Linked DNA regions of Homo sapiens: regions 2, 3 and 4 are each linked to region 1. Evidence: promoter capture Hi-C in 16 types of primary human blood cells and fetal thymus (Javierre and others, 2016). All regions are on one chromosome and are shown on one strand. Each heading gives the region's core, a stretch centred on a gene start or on the middle of the fragment in contact. The rest is flanking DNA. Distances are from core to core; before and after follow the strand shown. Region 1 holds the start of TRIM6 (tripartite motif containing 6). Region 2 has its middle 5.3 kb from the start of OR56B1. Region 3 holds the start of OR52N4 (olfactory receptor family 52 subfamily N member 4). Region 4 overlaps OR52N2 (olfactory receptor family 52 subfamily N member 2).

The links. Contacts are between HindIII fragments. The CHiCAGO score rates a contact against its expected background, and 5 or more counts as called.
Region 2: a contact is called between a fragment that was not itself captured here and the fragment with the promoter of TRIM6 in region 1, in 1 of 17 cell types (activated CD4 T cells). The highest score is 5.2, in activated CD4 T cells.
Region 3: the fragment with the promoter of OR52N4 here is called in contact with the fragment with the promoter of TRIM6 in region 1 in 12 of 17 cell types (total CD4 T cells, activated CD4 T cells, total CD8 T cells and 9 more); the score reaches 7.9 in total CD4 T cells.
Region 4: a contact is called between a fragment that was not itself captured here and the fragment with the promoter of TRIM6 in region 1, in 6 of 17 cell types (total CD8 T cells, activated CD4 T cells, total B cells and 3 more). The highest score is 6.7, in total CD8 T cells.

Annotation. Positions count from the first base shown.
Region 1 is chr11:5,595,160-5,597,926 of GRCh38, reverse strand. It overlaps TRIM6 (tripartite motif containing 6), which reads right to left and starts at 1,290. Exons shown (of 8, transcript NM_001003818.3): 1 at 1,013-1,290. The coding sequence starts at 1,029. It overlaps TRIM6-TRIM34 (TRIM6-TRIM34 readthrough), which reads right to left and starts at 1,290. Exons shown (of 14, transcript NM_001003819.4): 1 at 1,013-1,290. The coding sequence starts at 1,029. It also overlaps a transcript of TRIM5 not described here. RefSeq lists enhancers at 1,306-1,355, 602-1,519, 1,674-1,968. The HindIII fragment of the contact is 2,426 bases long and covers 174-2,599 here.
Region 2 is chr11:5,729,741-5,732,474 of GRCh38, reverse strand. It overlaps a transcript of OR52N4 not described here. Among named protein-coding and RNA genes, the nearest start is that of OR56B1, 5.3 kb to the left of the region's middle. The HindIII fragment of the contact is 5,391 bases long and covers 1-2,734 here.
Region 3 is chr11:5,752,880-5,755,579 of GRCh38, reverse strand. It overlaps OR52N4 (olfactory receptor family 52 subfamily N member 4), which reads right to left and starts at 1,337. Exons shown (of 2, transcript NM_001005175.5): 1 at 1,275-1,337; 2 at 1-887. The coding sequence starts at 839. The HindIII fragment of the contact is 4,248 bases long and covers 1-1,410 here.
Region 4 is chr11:5,821,050-5,823,749 of GRCh38, reverse strand. OR52N2 (olfactory receptor family 52 subfamily N member 2) reads right to left here. Exons shown (of 2, transcript NM_001005174.3): 2 at 2,267-2,700. The coding sequence ends at 2,449. Among named protein-coding and RNA genes, the nearest start is that of OR52N2, 13 kb to the right of the region's middle. The HindIII fragment of the contact is 649 bases long and covers 1,114-1,762 here.

The DNA of each region.
Region 1 (2,767 bases), core at 41-2,540:
ATTAAAGTTCTCTAGGTGATTCTTACGCACATTAAGGCTTCAGAAGCACTGCCTTAGATAAAGGACCTTCTTTCCCAGGTGGATACAATTTAGGGTGCAAAACAGCTAGAAGAGGGAGGGGGACAGAGAATGGCCTGCTATTTAGATACGAAGCATCTTTTAGAATGGAAGCTTGCATCGATATCAAAATGGCTTTCAGAATAAAAATCAGTGACTCAGCAGGGGATACTGGGGCTGGTGTAGGCTGGGGGTTCAGAGTTAGGAATGACAGAGCGGGCCCGTCCACCAGCTGGGAGCCCTAGTGAAAGTGGAATAAAATAGGTGGCAGTTGCATTTATAAGTGAGTTGGGCATGAGTTCTTGCACTTTAGGAATAACATTTTTTTTTATCTTTGTGTAGGGTTATATTTAACCTATTATCTGCAATTGATTATCTAACAGGACTCAATAAATATTTGAATTGGAACATAATCAGTTTCAAAACAAAAAATTTAATTTCCACTTCAAAAGAATTTCTACCCCCTGCATTTCAGAAACCTATAATTTAAAAATTGTTTTGATTGTGCATTTTTTTAAAGCTAGGCATGGAGTTTGCCAGTAATAATGACCATAATTTGTGTCAGGCAGCCTCCTACGTGTTTAAATCTGTCTCACTCAATCCTCACCAAAACTCTAAGATATACATATTACTCCGTCCATCTTATAGATGGAAGAAACTAAAGCTCAAAGAAGTCAAGTTAACAGTCTTCGGGCACACAGCCAGTGTCTGTCAGAGTCAGGATTTGAACACATGCAGTCTGGCTGCGGCATCTATGCTCCTAACCACACATTTCTGTCTCTATTGACTGACTGATTAAAATGTCTCTAACCTCAGTGGGGTCATTTGCAGTGAGAAAGAAAAAGAAATAAAGATATAATGAGTTCCGAAAGGGAAAGGACCTTATCTCTTTCACTGCCCTGTCACCTCTGCCAGAAGTGACAATAAGAGCCAGTCAACAGAACGGTAGACATACCTCTCTGACCCGCACATCTGGGGAATGAGAAGCCAAGAAGTTCCAGATGTAAGCAATATCAGGTGGTCAAAGCTCTTCAGAGCAATCCAAGGCACCTTAAACTAATCTTAAGGAACAGAGCGCGCTCACTCGGCTTTTATCTAAACTCAACCACGCACGACTCTGCTCCGTTCCGTTCCGAGAAAGGCAGGGGATCCCTCCTCCGCCAGCCTTTGGCCGTTGAACGGACGGACCCACAGGTCAGGAGTTTGCGGAAGGCTCATCTCCCAACTCCTTCTGGGAGGAGTCGGGCCGCCTGGGGTGGGGGATAAACGGTGCTCACTTCCTGGAGCGGCCAGGCTGGAGATGGGGGAGGGGAAGGGGGAAGGGGGAAGGGGGAAGGGGGAAGGGGGGAAGGGGAGAACGGGGGAAGGGGGGAAGGGATGCTGACTCTGAATCCACGCCTGACAAAATGGTTTGCAGTGATTCCCTAAAGCAGTTTCCAGAGCTGCCTCCTCTACATACTTCAGCTTGTAGAATAGAGGTTTAACTCTCTTTACACGGCCTATTCCCAGCTGCAAAGGTGCCTCTTCTGTGCTCCCTTCCCAAACTTGAGTTCACTTGAAAATGCAGAAGTCTCCCTCATTCTTCTTTCACCCGTGAACCACCCCCAACCCGACCTGCAGAGCGGGTCAAACTCTCCAGACAAGTGGGGACAGCGGTAGCTGGCCAGAAAATAAACTTGCTCACTAACCTGGAATCTGTGGCCTGGATCAGAGCCAAGGACTTGAAGCAGCCGCGTCCTCCACCCAGGCCGAAAGACTCAGGGGGGAAGGGGCGGGGCCTGGGGAGGAGGAGGGTCAAATTGTCCAGCCCCGCAGGAGATCCAGCCGATTCCATGGGTGTGGTCACCAGTGACCCCTCAGGTGGTAAGGGAGATGGAGATGGTTTCTGAGGCCAGGCGCGGTGGTTCACCCCTGTAATCCCAGCACTTTGGGAGGCCGAGGCGGGCGGATAACGAGGTCAGGAGATTGAGACCATCCCGGCCAACATGATGAAACCCTGTCTCTACTAAAAATACAGAAATTAGCTGGGCGCGCCTGTGGTCCTAGCTACTCGGGAGGCTGAGGCAGGAGAATCGCTTGAACCCGGGAGGTGGAGGTTGCACTCCAGCCTGGAGACAGAGCGAGACTCTCTCTCAAAAAAAAAAAAAAAGAATTTTTGAAGGTAGCAACGCAAAGCTGTTCATCTTACCTGATGAACGGCAAATCCGGAGGCCTTTGAGAACACCAGGCCAGAGATGACCCTTGTAAATTGTCTGCAGTGTACTGTAGCTTTCTAATATCATATCAGAGTTTAATTACACTGATAATACACCTGTACTCCATATAGACGTATTAATTAAAATGTCTAAATAAACATATAAAGTTATACGAGTAAAAGCCCCTTTGCATAATGGCATGTTTTGCCAAACGATCATTAAAATTCATCAGTTTAAAATTACACGTATGTATGTATAAAGCTGTGTGTGTGTATCTGTAATTTTGACCTATATAACTAGAAGACAATCTTTGTTTTTATTTAGGTCTGATGAATACATGTAAAGCTTATTGAGCCTCAGAACTCTAACTACAGGGTTTCAATAGCACAGAAACTCTGAGAAGAAAAAGAATGTCAAAGTTCCTCCCTAAGGAGACTGATTAGGTGAGTATCACCTTGCCTTAGAAGGTGGCTTGGGGAGGGAGGTATAGAGAGAGAAGGGACTGGGGTGTCCAT
Region 2 (2,734 bases), core at 165-2,664, 130 kb before region 1:
TATTGATGGATTCAGTCTCTTGGAGGTTACAAATGACTTTTTGAAAAGAACTGTCTATTTTTGGAGTGCATAAGAAAAAGTCATATTGGAGTGGGCTAAAGAGTAAGTTAAAGGCTAGGAAATAGAAAAATTTATGCACATAACATTTTAAAGAAGTTTGTACAAACAAGAAAATGTAGGGCAGAAGTTGGAAGTTTAGAGTTGGAAGTTGGGGTTTAGAGTAATTTGTAGTAGAAAGTAGAATGGTGGTTACCAGATGCTGAAAAGGATAAAAGGTGGGGAACTGGGGGATGCGGAGATGTTGACCAAAGTGTATAAAGGTTCAGTTAGACAGGAAGAGTAAATTTTCAAGAACTATTGTACAACGTGGTGACCACAGTCAATAGTAATATATGGTATGTTTCAAAATTGCGAAAGAATAAATGTAAAATGTTCTTACTGCAAAAAAAATAACTTTATGAGGTGATAGTTATGTTAATTAGACTGATATAATCATTCCACAAAGTATACATATATCACAATATCACATTGCATCCCTTATATATATTAGTCAATTAAAAATGAAAATATACATCAAAAATAAAAATTAAATTTTAAAAAGCATTTCTTGTTTTAAAATCGGGAAAAATAATGCATCTTTGGAGGTTGGTATGAACTATTTGGTAGAGAGAAAAATAGATTGTTGATAAGTCAGAGAGAATTGGATAAATAAGAGCATATGGTTGCTGAAAAAAGGAGGGGTGATGAGAGCCACTTTCCATGGCTCACATGGCAGGGACCTACCTCAAATTGGAAGAATGGTACCTGTCAATTAACCTTAGAAAATGTGGTTAAATGTTTGCCTATGTAGGTAGGTGTGATATAATACATTTGTTATGTTTAGTTAGAGGAAATTAAGAGCTACCATTTGGTAATGTTTTAGGGAAATGTTTGGACCAAGAACAGGAAGGAAGCTGCAGATTAATGAGAAACTTATTTTTAATGTAGAGAAAAGGCTTACAATTCTGAGACGTACACAACAATTCTGGAGGTGCCAGAAAACCCTTTACTGTATTACATCAAATAATAATTCGATATTATCACAATTCTTGCCTCCCCTGCTGGTTTCTCTGCTTTCTTCCAGTAAACTTCTTGAACATACAAAATGCTTAAAGAAGCTCATTTACAATGAATGAGAAGTGGATAAGATGTAGGAACTTATCCGACCCTCAGCAACTTAGAGCGCTTAGACTGCAGAATATGAAGTAATAGAGCAGTAATTCCTCAATGTCCTTTTCATAATCTGCCAAATATGTGAGTCCATTAGTCCAGTGCTCACTTAGAAAATGATTCTTCCTGAAAGTTTTTAGTTTTCATTGCTCTTCAAATTAGACACTATGACTAAATTCTCTATTAACTGAACAGTATACACGAATGGAAGGGATGAGGCTGTACCTTTTGACCATCCTACATTGCTTACTCTTACAAGGAACAGATTCCAAATACTAATATAATTTGAAGTCTGCTTATAGTCAAGGTGAGTTCAAGATGATATCATCAGAAGCAAGAAATAATGACAGTGGGAAGGAATTAGTTAAGCACACCATCGGTCATAATTGAAAGAAACAAAAAGGCAAGAGAAGTTTCCTAATGCAATGAAGAGCACAGTGTTTTCTGCATAGACATCTAGTTGCTGTCTCCTGCAGGAAGCCCTCTGCCTTGACACTGTTCTGGATTTTCAGCTCTTCCTTTCATGGTCCCCATTGCTATGGACTTAGATTGGAATGAGTGAGAAGTTAGCCAAAGATGGATCTCTGAGAAACACCAACATTTAAAAGTCAGGTTCATTAAAAATAAAATAAGGGGAAGAGGATGAAAAACATTAGAGACATGAAAGAAAAGCTGGGATTGTGTGGGATCATAGAAATCACAGTGGATAGATTTTGGAGAAGTAAGTCATAATATAACACAATTTAAGGTAGTTCTGTTAAAAATGGTTACTGCTGGCCGGGCGTGGTGGCTCACGCCTGTAATCCCAGCACTTTGGGAGGCTGAGGCGGGCGGATCACGAGGTCAGAAGATCGAGACCATCCTGGCTAACACAGTGAAACCCCATCTCTACAAAAAATACAAAAAATTAGCCAGGCATGGTGGCGGGCACCTGTAGTCCCAGCTACTCAGGAGGCTGAGGCAGGAGAATGGCATGAACCCGGGAGGCAGAGCTGGTAGTGAGCTGAGATTGTGCCACTGCACTCCATCCTGGGCACCAGAGTGAGACTCCATCTCAAAAAAAAAAAAAAAAAAAATGGTTACTGCTGGCTTTGATGACAGGTATTTCTCTGGAAACATCAACTTCTGGTTGAAGTTAGATTGTAATATAAGAAAAGAATAGGACATAAGAATGCAGCAATAATTAGTTCCAAAAATATTTTTCATGAACTTTCATTTAAAAAAAATCACTAAGGTTATGAGAAATTTTTCTATGGGGCAAATGTGCCAGTAAATTCAAATGGGTTATAAACAGGAGACATCCAAGAAGTAACTGATAGTCTGGGATCCCAAAGGCATATTATAAGAGGCTTTCTTGAGAGGAAAAAGAAATTGGCAATAAATAAATATAGCAAGAAAGGAGGAAATAATGGCTATACACATCAAAAGTTTATATGAGGATTATAATTGGAGACAGTTTATTCCTTGTCATTTCATTTTTTATGGAATTGAAATCAATGTAATATTACAAACATGAGTGGCCGGA
Region 3 (2,700 bases), core at 88-2,587, 160 kb before region 1:
GCTACAATGATGTGGCAAGAAGGGGGGATTATGTGTTCCCCAAAGCGGTGGGAAAAGAAGGAGAAGAAAGCTGGAGTATAGGAGAAAACAATGGCACAAATGTGGGCAGTGCAGGTATTAAAGGCCTTCTGCCGAGCATCTGCTGAGGAGAGGCTGACCACTGCCCGGAGAATCATGGTATAGGAGTTGGTGATACACAGTATGTCAAAGCCCCAAATCAGGAGGGCAACCATCAGACCATAGATGGCATTGACCTTGACATTACCACAGGACAATTTGGCTACAGACATGTGGTCACAGTAGGTATGGGGAAGTATATTGCCTCTGCAGTAGGGCAGGAGCTTGGTGAGGAAAGTAAAGGGAATAATGAGTAATACCCCTCTCAGGAAGGTGGCAGTCCCAACCTTTGCAATTACAGGATTGGTGAGGATAGTTGAATAGCGTAAGGGGTAGCAGATGGCCACATAGCGATCCAGGGCCATAAGCATAAGCACCCCAGACTCCATCCCTGTGAAGGTGTGGGTGAAGAACATCTGGACAAGGCATTCATCAAATCCAATGTCCTTGAGATGAAACCAGAAGATGCAGAGGGCTTTAGGGATTGTACTAGAGCACATAACAAGGTCAGTAAAGGAAAGCATGGCCAAGAAGTAGTACATGGGTTTGTGCAGGGCATCCTCATAGTGAATGAGGTAGAGGAGTCCACAATTCCCTACCATAGCCACAACATACATAGAGCAGAATGGGAAGGAAATCCAGAGTTGTGTGTCTTCCAGTCCTGGGACTCCATTCAGAATAAATGAAGCTGGTATTAGGTCTGTTTTATTCAGTGTTAGCATGATAAGTCTGGTAGGTTATGAAATAGCTCAAAATTTGTCTGGGCTTTCCTAGAGTTAAAAAAAAAAACAAGAGAAAATATAGGTTATTTTTACTGTCTCCCTCTCCCCCAACTTTTAAAAATTCCATAATGCATTTTAATGGTCCAACAACCAAATTTCTGAGTGCCAAGAAATAATTTTGTTTGTCTGTTTAGTTTTATTGATTGATTAATTAATTGATTCAGTAAAAAATTCTTATTGAGCAGTCTAAGTTTTCAACACAGATGCCAATCAAACATCAATTATTTTATAAAAAGACATATTCCCAATCTCATAGATTTATAATCAAGTATAATTCTGACTTTTCAAATGGTATTTTTATTAGAATATCTTACTTAACTATAACTATACTCATCTCAATATAGATATAATTTTAAAGAAGAGTCATTTGATTACCTCACTGATGATCTGAGAGATGAGATGTTGACTTTTTAATTTTTATTCTTAATGACTGACTGATATTTATTCTTGGGTACTCAGGCACTGTTCAAAGAATTTTGAAATTTTAATTAAATTATTACTCAATGAAGCTTGGGGTCTCAAAAATTAGTAAATTTATTGGGTGTCTATACTCAATAATAATTTAATTGTATATTTTAAAATAACTAAAATAATATAATTGGGTTGTCTGTAACACAAAGGATAAATGTTTGAGATGATGGATACCCCTATTTACTTTACTGGGATTTTTTTTTTTTTTTTTTTTTTTTTTTGAGGCAGAGTCTTGCTTTGTTGCCCAGGCTGGAGTGCAGTGGCGCAATCTTGGCTGCAACCTCCACCTCCCGGATTCAAGCAATTCTCCTGTCTTAGCCTCCCGAGTAGCTGCGACTACAGGCACATGCCACCACGCCCAGCTAATTTTTGTATTTTTAGCAGAGATGGGGTTTCACTATATTGGTCAGGTTGGTCTCCAACTCCTGACCTCAGGTAATCCACCCACATCAGGCTCCCAAAGTGCTGGGATTACAGGCATGAGCCACTGTGCCCGGCCCTTTAAAAGGGATTATTACACATTGTATGCTTCTATCAAAATATCTCATACACCCATAAATATATACACCTACTATGTGCCCACAAAAATTTAAAATTAAAAAAGTCAATGAAGTTTTGATTCAATTTTTTCACTTTTCAAGATATCTTTCTTGTTCTTTATGTATCTAGTCAACGCAAACTAGAAGATATCCAAATGCATACATACAGAAAATATATAAAGTACTTCAACAACATCAGTAAGAAAAAGTTGCAGGAAGAAACATACACTTCAAAAGAGAAATAAAATTGCCAATGAACAGGTAAATAGGCACAAACTTTTATATTAATCAGAAAAATAAGTAAAAATTGTATCTCTCATGACAAAGCACCTTTTTTTGGTATGTAGTGACATACCAAACAGGACAGCTAAAATGAAAAGAACTAAAAATACCAAGCATTGGCAAAGATGTAGAACAACTGGAACTCTCATTTACTGCTGGTAGACATGTAAATTAGAACAACTCTTTATTAGATATCTCATAATGATAAACATACACATGACCACCATTGCCATTTCCAACAAAACTATGTATATATATTTACTAGAATACATCAATTAGAATGCTTATTGAAACATGATTTGTAGTATAGCCTAAAACTGGAAAAAACCTAAATGTTCATCAACATCAAATGGGTAAATAAATTTTGGTACATTCCCACAATGAAATACCACGTAACAATAAGAATAAACAATCTATGACTATATGCATAATATAGACGAATCTCACAATATGTGTTAATTTTTTTTAGAAAGACTTAAAATAGATGTAACATCTTGTGATCTTTAAAT
Region 4 (2,700 bases), core at 189-2,688, 230 kb before region 1:
AGTCCAGAAGGGTAACGAATGGGGCAACAGCTGCTTAAAGTTGAAGGGTGATTCTAATATACTTAGTATCTCTCAGATGAAGAGCAATGTGGGGCATGCCTGAAGTTGTGACAAGACTCACAAAGCACTTCCTGATAGGACCTCTGTCTACCTTTCTAGTCACATTTTTTACTCCTCACCCTTTCTCTTTTACCTCTGAATATACAAAAACCTTTGTGAACCTAAACTTGCTATTCTTTGTTCAGCCTTAATATTAGAGCTAGGTTGTTTATTTTTTTCCAAATAATTTCCATCTGCTTTTCCTTGTAGGACACTTATACATATAATTCGAGATTGACCCTATATACTATTTTCCCTGTAAAATCTTTACTCACTACCTCCAATAGATATTGATGATCATGCTCTCAGGATTCATGAGTTTTGTGAACATCTGTGATGTACAATTACCTTGTTATCATTTTATAATGATTCCATTGCATTTTATATCCTCTACTAGACAAGGAATTAGCTAGTGTTTTTGTTTTCATTTACATTTCTCAGCGTGGAGTAGGCACATGGAGTCAGGCACATGATTGTACCCAGAAAAACTTGTTGGCTGACATTGATAGTATGTTTGTGAGAACTCAGTGAAAACTTGCCCATGGCTGGGCATAGTGGCTCACACCTGTAATCCCAGCACCTTGGGGTGCCAAGGCAGGCGAATCTCCTGAGCTCAGGAGTTCAAGACCAGCCTGAGCAACATAGTGAAACCCTGTTTCTACCAAAAATACAAAAAAATTAGCTGGGCATGGTGGGGCATGCCTGTGTCACAACTACTCAGGAGGCTGAGGTGGGAGGATCACTTGAGTCCAGAAGGCAGAGGTTGCAGTGAGCCGAGATGATGCCACTGCAGCCTAACCTGAGTGACAGAGTGAGACCCCATCTCAAAAAAAAAAAAGAAAAGAAAGCTTGTCCACACAAAACTGATACTGCACTGTGCACTGCCTGTACAACTGGAAAGATTTATCCTCAAACTATGATTTTCATAATGAATCAGAGTTGAAACTAATAGCTCATAAAAATAACTAAAATTTATTGAATGGTTAGTATACATCAGAGATTGTGCTACAAGCTTTTTTTGCATCAGAGCATTTAATTAGAAGAAACATCTCTGTGATACATTTTCTTTTTCACATTTGGAAGAAAATATGGAAGTCAAAATTTAGAGAGATTATGTAGCCTGTCCAACTCTAGTGGCTAGAAATTAAAAGACAGAGGACTTAACACTTGAGATGAATTGAATCTGAAACTGATGTTATATTTCCCCCAATTCTTTCCTACAAACTTTTTATTTCCTTCACACTGCATTCATTTTTTCTCTCTCCCCTTTCTTTTATATGTATTTCTTCTCACACATCCCTGGCTACAGTCCAGATTCTGAGTATCTTGAAACCAGGAACCGTATCATCTGCCTCCCTCTCAATAAATCTAAGATATGACTAATAATATTGCTTAAATTAGTGTTTCAAAAAATGAATTGATGAGTGAATGAATAAATAAATTATAATATATACTAATAGCTTAATGGTTTGCCTGCTTGGTCAATAACATGACAATTATATTTTCAGATCCATTTTATAATTTATTTATTTATTTTATTTTTACTTTAGATTCAGAGTGTACATGTGTAGGTTTGTTACAAGGTTATATTACATGATGCTGAAGTTTGGGCTTCTGTAGATTTTTTCACCCAGATAGTGAATGTAGTATCCAACAGAAAGCTTTTCAGTGTTTATTCTTCCCGCTCCTTTCGAAGAACCTGGAGTCTATTGTTCCCATTTAGATCCATTTTAAATGGAGACCCTAAACTGATGACTTGGGAAAAACAGAACCCTTGGACATTCTTCTGTGAATTATAGGGTATTTTAACACATATTTTGCTGACAATTAAAATGGGGAGATTTCATAGAACATATAAATCTAGCTTGTCTTTAAAAAATACTGAAAAATAGTGAACACTGGACCCACGTTTCTCTATGTCTCTACAGCCTCCCCACTTACACGCAACGCAGGGATTGTCAGCAGGTCTGCTGTCCTTATTTTACTACCTTTCTGGTCTCACAAACATGTGAGTCTATAAACGCTTAGGAAAAGCATCAACTCTTTAAGTAATGGGTATATTACTTCTTTATTTTGCATTCTCTGCTTTGGCAGATCCTTGCCCCCACTCCCAACACACACAAATTCAAGAACTTGCAGAGACTTCAGAAAATTGACATATTATGGTGACTTACAAATTTATGTCTTTATTTTGATTTTTTATTTCTATTTTTATTTTAGGTACACGTGCAAGTTTGTTACATGGGTAAATTACATGTCATGATTTTAATACCATTTTATTCACATCTTTTATGAAATTTTGTCTCCATTATTTTCTCACCACCTGAAACAATATGTCTATTCTATGTTTCATTTGTCATAGGTAAAACTAACCTTGTCTCCAAGTAAAAATTTAATTACACCTTCCTGAATCTGCTTGGTCTTGACTCCATAAACAATTGGGTTCATGGTAGGAGGCAGTAGCAGATAAAGGTTGGCCACGATGATGTGTATGTGGTTTGGGATATTGTGTCCTACAAAACGATGAGTGAAAAAAGTGAAAAAAGCAGCAACATAGGTGATCACAATGGAACACATGTGAGATGTGCAGGTGCTGAAGGC